Linked DNA regions of Homo sapiens: region 1 is linked to region 2. The links are contacts of gene promoters, found by promoter capture Hi-C in human tissues and cell types (Jung and others, 2019). All regions are on one chromosome and are shown on one strand. Each heading gives the region's core, a stretch centred on a gene start or on the middle of the fragment in contact. The rest is flanking DNA. Distances are from core to core; before and after follow the strand shown.

What was found. Contacts are between HindIII fragments. The study calls those that stand out against the background at their distance.
Region 1: a fragment that was not itself captured here is called in contact with the fragment with the promoter of CLHC1 in region 2 in 1 of the 25 tissues and cell types used here (pancreas).

What each region holds. Positions count from the first base shown.
Region 1 is chr2:54,596,686-54,603,508 of GRCh38, forward strand. SPTBN1 (spectrin beta, non-erythrocytic 1) reads left to right here. Exons shown (of 36, transcript NM_003128.3): 3 at 2,407-2,558. Among named protein-coding and RNA genes, the nearest start is that of SPTBN1-AS1, 41 kb to the left of the region's middle. RefSeq lists an enhancer at 844-893. The HindIII fragment of the contact is 3,029 bases long and covers 1,286-4,314 here.
Region 2 is chr2:55,227,355-55,233,801 of GRCh38, forward strand. CLHC1 (clathrin heavy chain linker domain containing 1) reads right to left here and starts at 4,939. Exons shown (of 13, transcript NM_152385.4): 1 at 4,869-4,939; 2 at 678-850. It overlaps RPS27A (ribosomal protein S27a), which reads left to right and starts at 5,334. Exons shown (of 6, transcript NM_002954.6): 1 at 5,334-5,354; 2 at 5,454-5,518; 3 at 6,009-6,063. The coding sequence starts at 5,471. RefSeq lists enhancers at 4,984-5,413, 5,434-5,613. The HindIII fragment of the contact is 6,944 bases long and covers 1-6,447 here.

The sequences.
Region 1 (6,823 bases), core at 1,550-4,049, 630 kb before region 2:
TTTGACATCTCTTCCTCCTCTTCTTTCCTCCCACCTACTTTGAGTTTCTAAGAACCATGATAGCCCTGGGGAGCCCTCCCGGCACAGATCTCAGTCTGTTTCAGCTCTGTTCTCTGCACCCACCCATGACCTCTCCATTTGCCTCTCTGTAGGGAGGAGGGTTGGGATTGGGCTGTAACTCTTTAGGACAGGGCACTAAGGAAGTATATTGACTGTTGTTTCTGGCAAATCCTCAGAGTTTCCTTGTGAAAGAACCTGTTAATTCAAAACCTGAAAGAAGTCTGGGTGCTCCTTTAGTGAGAGATTCACCCAAAAGAGTGACAATTGGCTGAGGAACACATTTTGTGCTTGTTTATTTAGAAATATTTTAATCCAAGCAGGTTTTCATTTTGATCTTGCTCCCTTGCTTCATTAAAGACATTTTCTGACTCCAGTATAACGCATAAAGGATTTTATAATTCACAAAAAAAATTGTTAACCCTAAATACATATAAACTATGAGTTACTTGCCTCCTTGATAAGAGGCCATCTGTGAAATGCACCTTACATATTCTGCTCTAGACCTGCTCTTTCAGAATGGCCAAGCTTAGCCCCAGAATTACAGCTCCTGAGTCACTGTAGTAAAGTTGCCATCCATCACAATGATTACGTGATCAATAATGCATGTGGTCTTTTCTGTGGGACCTGTCATGATGTTATTGGTGCAGCTGCTTCTCCACTGCAGCCTGCCCCTTACTGTCTTTTTCTGCTTCCTCTAATCCTGTCCTTTTTGATCCTGTGTTTCTGGTTGGCCTTTGTCCCTGGGGAAGGGCCCTCCTTCTGTCTGGATGGGTAGGTCCTTTTTGGGAAAGGCAGGACCTCAAGGAGCCGCTGACTGTAGCAGGTGGCCGGGGATCTTGGCAGGTGCCCCAGCTGATTCTCCTGCCAGGTCGGCAGCTGTAAAACCTCAACCAATGTCATCTCTGCCTCATTCCCTCCCTGTGGTGGGTGGTGGAGTGAGTTTAGCAAAGCCTTCAGACAGACCTTCCCAGGGTGTTGGGCTGTTTGCTGTCCTTCTGGCCAACCTGAGAACCCAGTACTCTCAGGCGACTGGGCACATGCCTTATTAGCAAGGGTGGCTTTTTAGTTGTTACCCCCACCCAGTGGTTTTGAAATACATGCCAAATTGTTGAGCTATCTGCTTTTTTTTTTTTTTTTTTTTTTTGTAGATTCGTGTGTAATTATTTTTGTCATTTGGGTTTGCACTAGGAGTAGGTCTTAGATTTTTGGCATAAATTCATGCTGGTGGAACTAGATATAGTGTATGTAACATAGAGAACAGAGTCAGGGAGTAAGAGTGGTTGGGTCCAGGGTACGTTCTGTGGATGTCTGTTGAAGGTCTTCAGCAACCTATGTTTAGAACATTCTGCAGAGGCAAGAAGTTTGAAAGCCTATTTGTATGGTATGTGAAGGCCAGTTCTGGGCAAATATGTCTAGAGTTTTATACCTTAAATTGGACAGAATTTGATTACTGAGCTTTGAAAAACCTTTAACACTGTTTCCTGGATGACTTGAATGTACAACAATCACGCTTTAGACCATAAATCAGCAGTTGCCTTTTCAGCGAAGGATCACAGTATGGAGATTATATTTTTCTTCTCCTTTTATAGAAGAGAACATTGAATCCTGTGTTGAGTCACATTTTTGTTGAAACCTTGGGCCCAGACCCTGCTTTCCCGATGCCTGCAAAGACTTCCCGATGCCTGCGATGTCTTTGCACTCTACCATGTTGCTTGCCATTTTCTTTTGTTGTTCATGGTGTGTGTGACTGAGCAGGTGAAGACGGTCATTGCCAAGGTCATGAGTTAATTTATCTTGTCCAGTGTTGCCCAATCCTTTGTAGATGAGGGAAGCAGTTTTCTGCTGTCTCATGAGATTTCCTACCCTACACCCTTTAATATACTCACCTTTTGGAGGAATAATAGCTGTAACATGTATGTAGGAAGCTTTACCAGTCAAGTATTATGGTATAGGGCAGGACTGCAAAGGACCCTGTTGTCATCTGCATCCTGCTGCCTCTTCAGCAGGGATGGGAGAAAAGAAAGGGGAGCAAAGGATGTTCTGCTGGCAGTGTGCCTGGGAGCTCACATGTTTAAGGACTGGACAGTTCCTACACAGATGCTCCTTGACTTATGAGATTATATCCCAGTAAACCCATCGTAAAGTCAAAAAATTGTAAGTTGAACCATCAGTAATCAGTGTTCTTTCTCAAAGACATGACCGCAGTTAAGGGGCGCTAAGTAGAGGTGTCCTTGGAGGTCAGTTTTGCTGACCTTCCTCTGGCTGGGGTCTTGTGGCCCTGCTAGCATGTGCCTGCTCCTGCCAGTTCTGTGGTCAATGGTAAAACAAGTTCTTCTCTGCTTGCAGATGAGCGTGAAGCCGTGCAGAAGAAGACCTTCACCAAGTGGGTCAATTCCCACCTTGCCCGTGTGTCCTGCCGGATCACAGACCTGTACACTGACCTTCGAGATGGACGGATGCTCATCAAGCTGCTGGAGGTCCTCTCTGGAGAGAGGCTGGTGAGTGGAGACCTTAGGAAGTGCCGTGTGTTGTAGGTGGAAAATATTTTTGAAAAATCAAGTGTGACTTGTCTCCTGTTGAATTCTGCACTTAATGGTTGATAGTTTTGAGGAGAATCTTGAGAAGTGAGTTGAGCGCTTCAGGGAGAGCCTTAGTGTCACATTCTGAGCGTGGATGATGTTCTTGAGCTGTAATAAAGCCACTTTGTTCTGGTAATTTGCAAGGTTGCCACCTTTGGTCAGAAAGAACTTGGCTGGGGTTCCTGCCAAGAACAGGGCATGGTGCTGGAATTTGAAGGGCCAGGCTTGGGCGCTGGCTTCTAGATGAACCTGTGTCCCACATGCGATGATGGAATGTTTTCTAAATTTGTGTCTTTCTGGTTGTCTAGAAAATCTGAGCTGCCATCTTAAGGTGGCAAGCATTGAATTCAGTGGCCACTGATGTTTTCTTCCCTGCACGCTTTTTATTTTGGGAGTGGAGGGAGAAGCTGGTGTTTTGTCATCTCCTTGGGAAAGGAGCTTCTGATGAATTCACCCTGCCTTTTCAGGCAGGAAAGTTGTCAGCCTGCAATGAAAATTGTATCCCCAATCTGTTTCCCAGAGCTGCTGCGGCCCTCTCTGATGTGACTCTTGTTTATGCACCTTATACCAAAGAAGCTTAAAGCAGTCACTGTGACTGATCCAACAGGTTTTGTCTCACCTTGGTTTGAAAATGGTTGCTGTATCCTCCCAGAGCACATGTAGTGCCATAGGTGGAAGTGGTGCCGAGCCAGAAGCCAACGCCCAGAATGGAGACCACATCTGTACTGACATCACCAGGAAAATATGATGCTGGCAGTTGGCAGGGCTGCCAGAAAGCCTTATTTTTAACTTGATCTCCACCCTGTAGCTTGCCAGCCGCAGTAGGCCTGTGTGCAGACCTGCCCCACACCTCTGACCGCAGGCAAGGGTCTAAGGTTGTCCCTTGTCCTATTTGTTATCAGCTCAGAGACAGACTGCCTCTTTGAGTCTGGGTTGAAATGGAGCCAGAAAAGTATTCTCTTCCCTGCCCTTCAGTTCAAGAACAGGGCTCTCCAGAAGATAGTGAAGCCCTGTCTTCTCTGTAGTGAGTTTCATCCATGCCCTTTGTTCCTGAGCATGTAGGTCTTGTGGCCTCATTTTCTGTGAGGGTTTGTCGGTCACACTAGACAAACTAGACAAATAACGGAGACCCCTGCTCAAAACCATGATGGCTATAAGAAGGCAGTTGATTTGTGGTCTGGGGGTGAGGGAGTGGACCCACATGGGGAGTTTGAACAGGCCATTTATTGCATTTTGATTTGATTTTCCAAAGTGAGTCTTGTTTGAGAGCCTAGACTAGAATTATTGTGATATGCAGCTTTAAGTATAATTTTTATAACCAGACTTCCTTTGTCTACCTCTCAACCTTTTTTTGTTTCTTAGTGTTTAACCTAGTATGTTTATTTATTGATTTTTTTTTTTTTTTTGTGGAGTGGGGGAATGGTGTTTTGAAAGTAGCTAAAAAAAATCATTAAAGGTCACATGGATAGGAGTTAGTCTGAACATTTATTTTTGTGGTTTTTTTTTTTTAATTTATTTTTGTTCCAATAGGGTCCAATCTTCTAGGCTGTAGGGAGTAAACTGTTCACCTTTAAAGACCCATAATTATTTTATACCAAGAAGATTGTGTCCTTGATAATGTCCACATCATAAATGGGATCAGGCCCATTGCCGTTTTTTCTGAACAGGGCAAGAAAAATATAAGTAGGGAGAAAAACCAGTAAAGCATAATTCTTAGATGTGTGTGAGTATCTCCCACTCCTCTCCTTATTTGTTAGCAGTAAGTTTTTTTGTGGCAACCCAGAGACCTAGGAGAGTAAGGATGAAGAAGATGGTACAGTGGCTACCATCTCCAACCTCTTAGGCAGTCGATATCAGTAGTTTTACAGAACTTTGTAAAGCCCCTAGTGCCTTCATTTGTATTACCCATTCTTCACAGCCATCTTGGATTATATAGGTTGGCCAGTCTAATTTTCTTATTCCAAAAATAAAGATACCATAGATAGAGTGCTCTTAAAGCTCTTGTTCATCTGGGCTGGAGATTTTAAGTCTCTTTGGCCTCGTAGTCTGTTTGGTTCATGGAACTTCCTGGAAAGGAAACACACCACACACTGCCTTTGGCCGTGGAGGTTGCCAGGACCTCAAGTTAAAGATCCTCCCTGCAGAAGACCTCCATGAGAGCTTGCCCCAAAGGTTCCTTGCATATTCAGATTCCAGAACTAATGAGGTGGTTAGAGCTTCCAGGCCTGGGTAAATGAATGTCCCAGCTAAGTGTGTCATCAGATAACATTAGCTGGGCTTTCTGCACCAGTGGTCCAAAACCCTGGGTAACATAAATGTTTGCACTCTATCTGGAGCCCAGTCTTTGTCAGCCAGCATTTTAGCCCCAGCACTTAACCACCAGCTTGGCAATAGCTAGCAGATAAATGTTTGAGGGACTAGGTGATTCAATTTACTTAATTAATAGATTCTTAGAGCCACTTCCTTTACAGAGGAGGAAATCTGTGAATGTGTGCATGTGTGTTTTCTGAGTAAAGTTCAAAGAAACATTAATGACCCAGACAATTCCACCCTCACCCCACCCTGGATTTTGGCTCAATAATATTTGAGTTAAATATGAGCAAGTATCATGTAGGCATTTGGGAACTTGATTTTGAACTACTCAGCAACATCACAAGGCAGAGATCTCTGGTCCTGGCCTGGTTATGATCTGTGTCCAGAAGTGTCTGCTCCCTCTCGGTCTCAGGTGTATCAGCTCATAGAGCAGTGAGAAGGCTGAGAGCTGGGCCAGGAAGCTTCTGCTAGTCAGGATTAGATTGATTAGAAATAAAACTATTCTTTTCTCATTTCTTATTCTGAGTTCACTATAGTCTATAACTCTCCATAAAGGTCTCACTTGAAAAATGCCTTAGAAATACAGACCCACCCTTTACTTTAACATTGGATTGGCAGATAAAAGTGTGAGCACAGAACCTGTGCTGGCCACTTAGTAATTAGACCTAGATCTCAGGACCAGAGTAGAATGAGGCTTGAGGGGTGATGGTTTGCCCTGCAGCAGCGTTGACATGTGGAGAGAGAGGAGCCCCTGGCATACGATAGGCCTGCACTTCAATGGTAATGTTCTGCCCACAGCTCATAATCCACTTTAGATGCTCCCCATTGCCTGCCATCTCCCTTCATGGGCGTCTGCAGTGAAGATTGATTCTCACTATGGTGGCCAGTTTTTTGCCTTGCTCCTGGCCAGACTAAGCCCTCGCCTCTGACCGAGATAGAGTGAGGTTTTCCAAACAACTCTGCCCTCCCCCAAACCCCACCAAGTCAGTTATCACTGGTTTTTGCTTCCCTGTTGTTTCCTGATCTGTATTCTGTCTTCTTACTCCATCAGTCATTCTCTGAGAAAGCAACAGAAAAGAGTGTGTGTGTGCGTGCATGTGTGTGTGTTTGTGTATGTTGCCACCATTAATTTCAAAGCAGGCTGAGCTAGGTGGAGAAGATAGATTTAACATGAGATTTGTTAAGCCTCAAATCCCACGTTGAACTGCTCTGAGTTTTTTCATAAAGCCTTTGTTTAAGAGAACCATACTGGTACATATTGTTTATTGAAATAGTGTTTGTGGACTGGCCATGGAACCTCGTTGGGGTTTCTTAAAAACGTCATTTGTATGGGAGAATTTACTTTTGTTTTAAACAACCAGCCACAGAACTCCTACATTAAATGTGGGTCTAATCACACAAACTTGAGAAGTGAACTAAGAGTCCTAAGTGCCACATGATAAAGTGCCAGATGAATGGCCCCAGAGCCCTAGAGTTCAGAAGGGGAGATGAGCCCTCTGGACAGGATGTCAAGAAACCTTAGTAGGAGGGTAGGGTGTGGGTAGGGTTCCAGCTGGGTCCAGGAGAAGAGCTTCACAGGCCGGGCAGCCAGAGTGTGAAAGCTCATAGTTTGGACTAAGTGAAGAGAGCATTTGGAGGTAGCAGGCATCAGGAACTGGCGCAGGGCAAGTTTCCCAGCCAAACTGGAGGGGTTTTTTTTGAAAGGAGTGGTGATGGTAACTTCCCTATCACTTGTGTTTACAGAGTACTCTCCTACTCTTTTCTCATTCAGTTCTTACAGTCTAATGAAGTGGGCAACCTCTGCTTTACAGAAAACAGTTACCAGTGACTTGCCAAGGCCAGTGCTGCTAGTAGGCGATATGGTGTGGACT
Region 2 (6,447 bases), core at 3,689-6,188:
GGGGAGACAAACTATAAATAAATAATTTCAAATAGTAAAAGATAACCAGGCGCGGTGGCTCACGCCTATAATCCCAGCACTTTGGGAGGCCGAGGCAGGCAGATCACGAGATCAGGAGTTCAAGACCAGTCTGACCAACATGGTGAAACCACATCTCTACTAAAAATACAAAAATTAGCTGGGAGTGGTGGCACACGCCTATAATCCCAGCTACTCAGGAGGCTGAGGCAGGAGAATCACTTGAACCCAGGAGGTGGAGGTTGCAGTGAGCCGAGATTGAGCCACTGCACTCCAGCCTGGGCAATAGAGCAAGACTCCATCTCAAAAAAAAAAAAAAAGTAAAAGATAAAAGTCAAAAGAGGAAGAAACGGGTGTTATCATTAGAGAGGGGGTAGTGACATTTGGACACCAGTGGCTTCCTACCGTATTACCCTTAGGATAAAATCCAAGTTCCTTTACTTGGCCTATTAGTGCCCTTCAGAAACTAATGACTCTTTTTCTTTGACCAAATTTACTCTCTTCATGTCCCTGTCCTTTGCCCCATATCCCCATTCCCACACCCATGAACTTCCTCTCTTACCTTAGGATCTTACATAATTCTCTCCCCCTCCCTGCAGACCATCCTCCTATATTACCCCCAACCCCCAAAACACATACATACTATCACTTTGATTCACCTGGCTTTTACTCTTTCTTCAGCTTCAGGAAAGCTGTCCTGGATTCCCTTAAAATTGGTCAGATGCCACTGCTATGTTCTCCCATAATACTGTGCACTTCCTCCATCATGGTATTATCCTTCCACCACACTGCCTTAGAGACTTCCTGTTTATATTCTGTCTCATCTGTTAGGCTGTAAGCGTGACAAGATCAGGAAACAAAATGTTCTCTTTCCCCATCATCCCTCCTCTACCATATGCATTCAAGTGCATAATGCAGTTTCTAGCAGAGCAGTACTCAAACATATGTTTGCTGAATAATCAATAATCACTGAACAATAATCTAGTCTATTCATAAGACATTGGACTTGTGGTGCTCTCAAACCAGAACACAGCTAAAGGGATTGTTCCTTAACATCTACAAAATGCCATTGAGTTACATAAACCAACCAAGATTACCATTCATTCATTCATTCATTCATATTAGACATTTAGGGATGTGTTGACAAGTCACAAGGGTTCCCAGTCAAGTGTTCCAGGTCTAGTAAATGAGCCACTGCTACAAAGCAGAAAAGGCAGTGTGACAGAGGTAAGCACAATAGGCTACAGAAGGCCAGAGGGGCATCTCATCAGCCTACGGAAGGGGGCAAGGAAACATTAGGGAAAACATCTAGTAAAACAAAATCTAGGGCAATGCTTAAGTTGTGCTACATTTATTTATTCAATATTTGGGGGACACCTATTGTTTGTCTGCCATTATTCTAGACAATGGAGACACAGTATTGAACAAAACAAAGTCCCTAATCTCACAAAGGTTACATTCATGTAGAAACAGACAACACACAAGAAAAAAAATAGTCCAGGCACAGCGGCTCATGCCTGTAATCCCAGCACTTTGGAAAGCCGAGGCAGGTGGATCACTTGAGGTTAGGAGTTTGAGATCAGTCTGGCCAACATGGCAAAACCCAGTCTCTATTAAAGAATATAAAAATTAGCTGGGCGCAGGGGCTCACACCTATAATCCCAGCTACTTAGGTGGCTGAGGTATGAGAATCATTTGGACCAGAGAGGTGGAGGTTGCAGTGGGCTAAGATCATACCACTGCAATCCAGCCTGGGCGACAGAGGGAGATTCTGTCTCAAAAAAAAAAAAAAAAAAAGAAAGAAAAAAATTATATATATATAGAAATATAGTATGACAGATAGGGGTTAAGTTGTATGAAGAAAAATAAAACAAGGTATGGGGGATAGAGAGTAAGGAAGGTGGGAGGATACCATTTTCTATAAGGGCAGTAAGTCAGGAAAGACAAAAGAGCTTACTGATAAGGTGACATTTCAGAAATCTGAAAATAGCAGGTCATGTAGATTCCTGGGAGATGAGTGGTTGAGGCAAAGAGAGTAGCCAGTCCAAAGGCCTCAGGGTGGGACAACACATTTGAGGAACAGCTAGAGGGCCCGTGGGGCTAGAAGAGAATGAGAAAGGGAGAGAAGAGATGAGATCAGAGAGGTAACTGCCAGATTATGTAGCATGTAGGGTCTTGAGGGCAGAACTACTATCAGCCTAGGGGGTACCTTTGTGCGGTTTAGAAAAAGAGGTCCCTTTCTCTGGGCAGACTTGGCAAGAGGAGCAACACTGGACTGTGGCCTCTACTTGTTCCAGCACTGGAGCAACAGCCTCACTTGTAAGAATTTAGGCTTTCCTCTGAGTGAGATTCGAAGCCTTTAGAGGCCTGTGTGCAGAAGAGTGGGAGAGCTGACTTAACATTTTAAAGAATTGTTCTTGGCCAGGCATGGTGGCTCATGCCTGTAATCCCAGCACTCTGGGAGGCCAAGGCGGGCAGATCACCTGACGTCGGGAGTTCCAGACCAGCCTGACCAACATGGAAAAACCCTGTCTCTGCTAAAAATACAAAATTAGCTGGGCGTGGTGGCGCATGCCTGTAATCCCAGCTACTGGAGAGGCTGAGGCAGGAGAATCACCTAACCCGGGAAGCAGAGTTTGCGGTGAGCCAAGATTGTGCCATTGCACTCCAGCCTGGGCAACAACAGCGAAACTCCATCTCAAAAAAAAGAAAAAAAAGAATTGTTCTTGTTGCTCTGTGGAAAACAGATTATAGGACGCAAGGGTCAAAGCTGGAAGTGCTGTTACGAAGCTACTGCAATAATCAAGGCAAAAGATGATGGTGGCTTGAATCAGGGTGCTAACAATGGAGGTGGTAGGAAGTGTTCTGCATATATTTTGAAAATAAAGCCAAGATCTGCCAAGGTAGATAAGATGTGGGATATAAAAGAACAGTCAAGGATAATCATAAAGTTTTTGGCCTTAGTGACTGGAGAAATGGGAATTGCCATATATAAACATGGGAAGAGCAATTTCATGAGATTAAGTGTTTGGGGCCTGTCCATTAGAGATGTTGAGTAGATAGCTGGATATGTGAAGATGAAGTTGTGACATATCTGTGACATATCTGGTCTGACAGATAAGTTTATGAGTCATTTGCATATGATGATACTTTAAAAGTTATTAAACAAAAATGAGATAACCAAGAAAATGCAGACAAAGCAGAGGTCCAAGGACTGGGCCTTGGGGATACTCCATGGTTAGAGGTCTTGCAGATCAAGAGGAAGCAGCAAATGAGCCTGGAAAAGAGCCTCCAGGGTGGCAGAAAAACTGAGAGGTGAAGTCTTTGAAAGGTTTTCAAAGAGAGATGGAATGAGCAACTGTGTCAAATACTGCTGACAGATCAAATAAGATGAAATGACCATTGAATTTAGCAACATGGAGGTCATTAGTGACCATTACAAGAGCTATCCGATCAGAATGGTGGGGACAAAAGCCTGACAGGAGTGGGTTCAGACAACGGAAGGGAAAGATTAGAGACAATATGTACAAGCAACTCTAGGAAATTTTGTTGTAGAGACTAGTTGGCGGACTAGGGGATGAAAAATGTTCCAGGAGGCAGGGCGTGGTGGCTCACGCCTGTAATCTCACCACTTTGGGAGGCCAAGGAGGATGGATCATTTGAGGTCAGGAGCTAGAGAACAGCCTGGCCAACATGGTGAAACCCCATCTCTACTAAAAATACAAAAATTAGCCGGGTGTGGTGGTGGGCGCCTGTAATCCCAGCTACTCGGGAGGCTGAGGCAGAAGAATTGCTTGAACCTGGGAGGCGGAGTTTACAGTGAGCCGAGACCGCGCCACTGCACTCCAGCCTGGGCAACAGAGCGAAATTCCGTCTCACGAAAAAAAAAAAAAAAAGTTCCAGGAAGAATAAACGACTGGATTCTTCAGAAATGCCAAAACACGGGAGGGCATAGGTCAGGAAATTAAATTAGCTTCATTTACTAAAATGTAGAGTAATGGGTTTAGCAGATTAGGTTGTAAGGAAGGCAGAGGCTGAATGTCATTCTAAGAAATTTGAATTGTATCCTGAAGGTGAGGTATAAAATAATAACACACATTTACCTTTCAGAATGAATATTTTGGAGGCAATAGTGAAGGTGGGTTAGAAAGGAGGAAAGACTGGAGAGAGATAAGGAGTTAGATTCGGAACCCCTACAAGAGAAAATTAAGGTCTGAATTTGGGGATGGGGTCGCAGAGGGCAGAGGATGAAGAAATAAATACAGAAGACATTAGAAAGGACTCTGGTTTGTGGAGTGGAGAAAGGACAGGGAGAACTTGCTTCTAATTGGCCTCCTTGCCGGAAGAAGCACCCCATACATACTCCAAAAACTTCCTCTCAGATCCAAGACTCCCAATGCCCAAATTTGGAAATTCTACAACTAAATAACCATTCTGCAGGTTTCTTTTCCGTACGGCTTCACTTTAAAATTTGAAAACTCCTGAGATTTTTCAACATATTAAAGCGTGTCACACTAAGGAGTGACACACAAGACCCAGACTCTTCCCTAGGCTGGGAGAGACTCGGCGGTTGAAAGCAGGGAGGCGCTACAGGAGAGAAAGGGCTGAACCCCCGCTTCCGCAGATTTCACCTATTTTTCAGTTTGCCTGGAGCAGGCCACGCAAATTCCCTTCCCTTGAAGGCCCAAGGAGCGTCTGGTAGATTGCTGATTCTCTGCCCATCACCGCTTCTGGAAGTGAGTGAAGGACACCTTTCGTGCCCCGCACCCTTTGCCCCCCGCTTAACATTTGCTCTAGTCACTTCCGGCCCGTTCCCACGCTCCGGAAACCATTATTCCGCTTCATCCTACCTCCAGTCCTCACCTGAGTCCTTTTCTCCAAACACCGACTTCAGTGCTTAGAGATAGTAACTAGGGAATCTGGGAGGTGGAACTGCATCTTGGGACAAGTAGTCCAAGGTAGAAGAAAGCAGTGGAGAACTACAGTTCCCAGAATGCACTTCCATTTCCTACCTCTTCCCCAAGAGGCCCCCCTCGACCTCCTTTTAAAAATTCTCTTAGCCACGTTGATTGTACGGGAAAAGCCTTTTTAAAACATCTTTTACGTTGCTTAAACCTACAGTTTCGAAAGCATTCCGAAGGCTAAAGTGAGAAATAAGCCCAGGCTAGGGAGAGGAGAAACGAAGTTCACGTCCTAGTCTGGCACCGGGTTGGATTGTCGCTGGGACGGCAGTCAGGCATTTGGTGTGGTCGCCTAAGGGGTGGGTCCTTCGGCGGGAGCTCCGGGAAACCCCGTGGGCCTGCGCGGCGTTCTTCCTTTTCGATCCGCCATCTGCGGTGGGTGTCTGCACTTCGGCTGCTCTCGGGTTAGCACCCTATGGTGCCTTCTCTTGTGATCCCTGACCTAACCTGTCTCTTCCTTTTCCTCAACCTCAGGTGGAGCCGCCACCAAAATGCAGATTTTCGTGAAAACCCTTACGGGGAAGACCATCACCCTCGAGGTACGGGCCGGGTGGTCATGAGGAAGCCAAGGTCCGAATAAGGTCCTGAGGTGGATTTTAGGACCGGCGCTGCTTTCCATGTCTTAGACCATGATTCCGAATTTGGGTTCTAAAACTTAAGCTTTGAAATGAGTACCTTTTGCTGAGCAACGACCTAGAGGTGATTTTCGGTGGCCAAAGGCTGGACCTGTCTCCTCTCGAGGGGTTCCAGCTAGTTAGTTAAAACGGAGGAGCTGCGGTGGGGAAGGAGACGCTCTGCCCGCCGGGTGCGAGCACGTGTGGCCCTGCGGCCGCCGCCCGCTCTGGGCTGGGGAGATGAAGGTGCTTTCCGGTAGCCGACTTGGGAGGTTGCCCACTGGGTGGGTAATAGGTCTCTCGAGTAGGTCTCAGCCCTGTCGCTGGTTCGGTTCAGTGGTAATTGTCAAACTAAATGAGTTCTGCTGTAGTTCCTTAATGTGTAACCAACATGCTTTCACTTTAACACTCATAGGTTGAACCCTCGGATACGATAGAAAATGTAAAGGCCAAGATCCAGGATAAGGAAGGCAAGTAGTATTTTGTAGTTAAGAAAACTTAACCTGCGGAGACTTCGGCCTACCTGTAGGTGCTAGACATACCTGCTCTTGGTGATGGGGGAAGGGGTCAGATTGACAAAGCGAAATACTTGTGGAATAACACAATAGACATTGGTGATCGGGGAGCACAGTACCTAGATTGGAATCCTTGAGGTGTATTTCACTTGCGTGAATTTGGACACTTATTTATTTATTTTGTGTGAGATGGAGTCTCCTCTGTCGCCCAGGCTGGAGTGCATTCGCTTGTCCCGGCTTACTGCAGCCTCCGCCTCCCGGGTTCAAGTGATTTTTGTGCTTCAGCCTCCCTATTAGTGGGGATTACAGGCGTGCACCACCATGCCTGGCTAATTTATT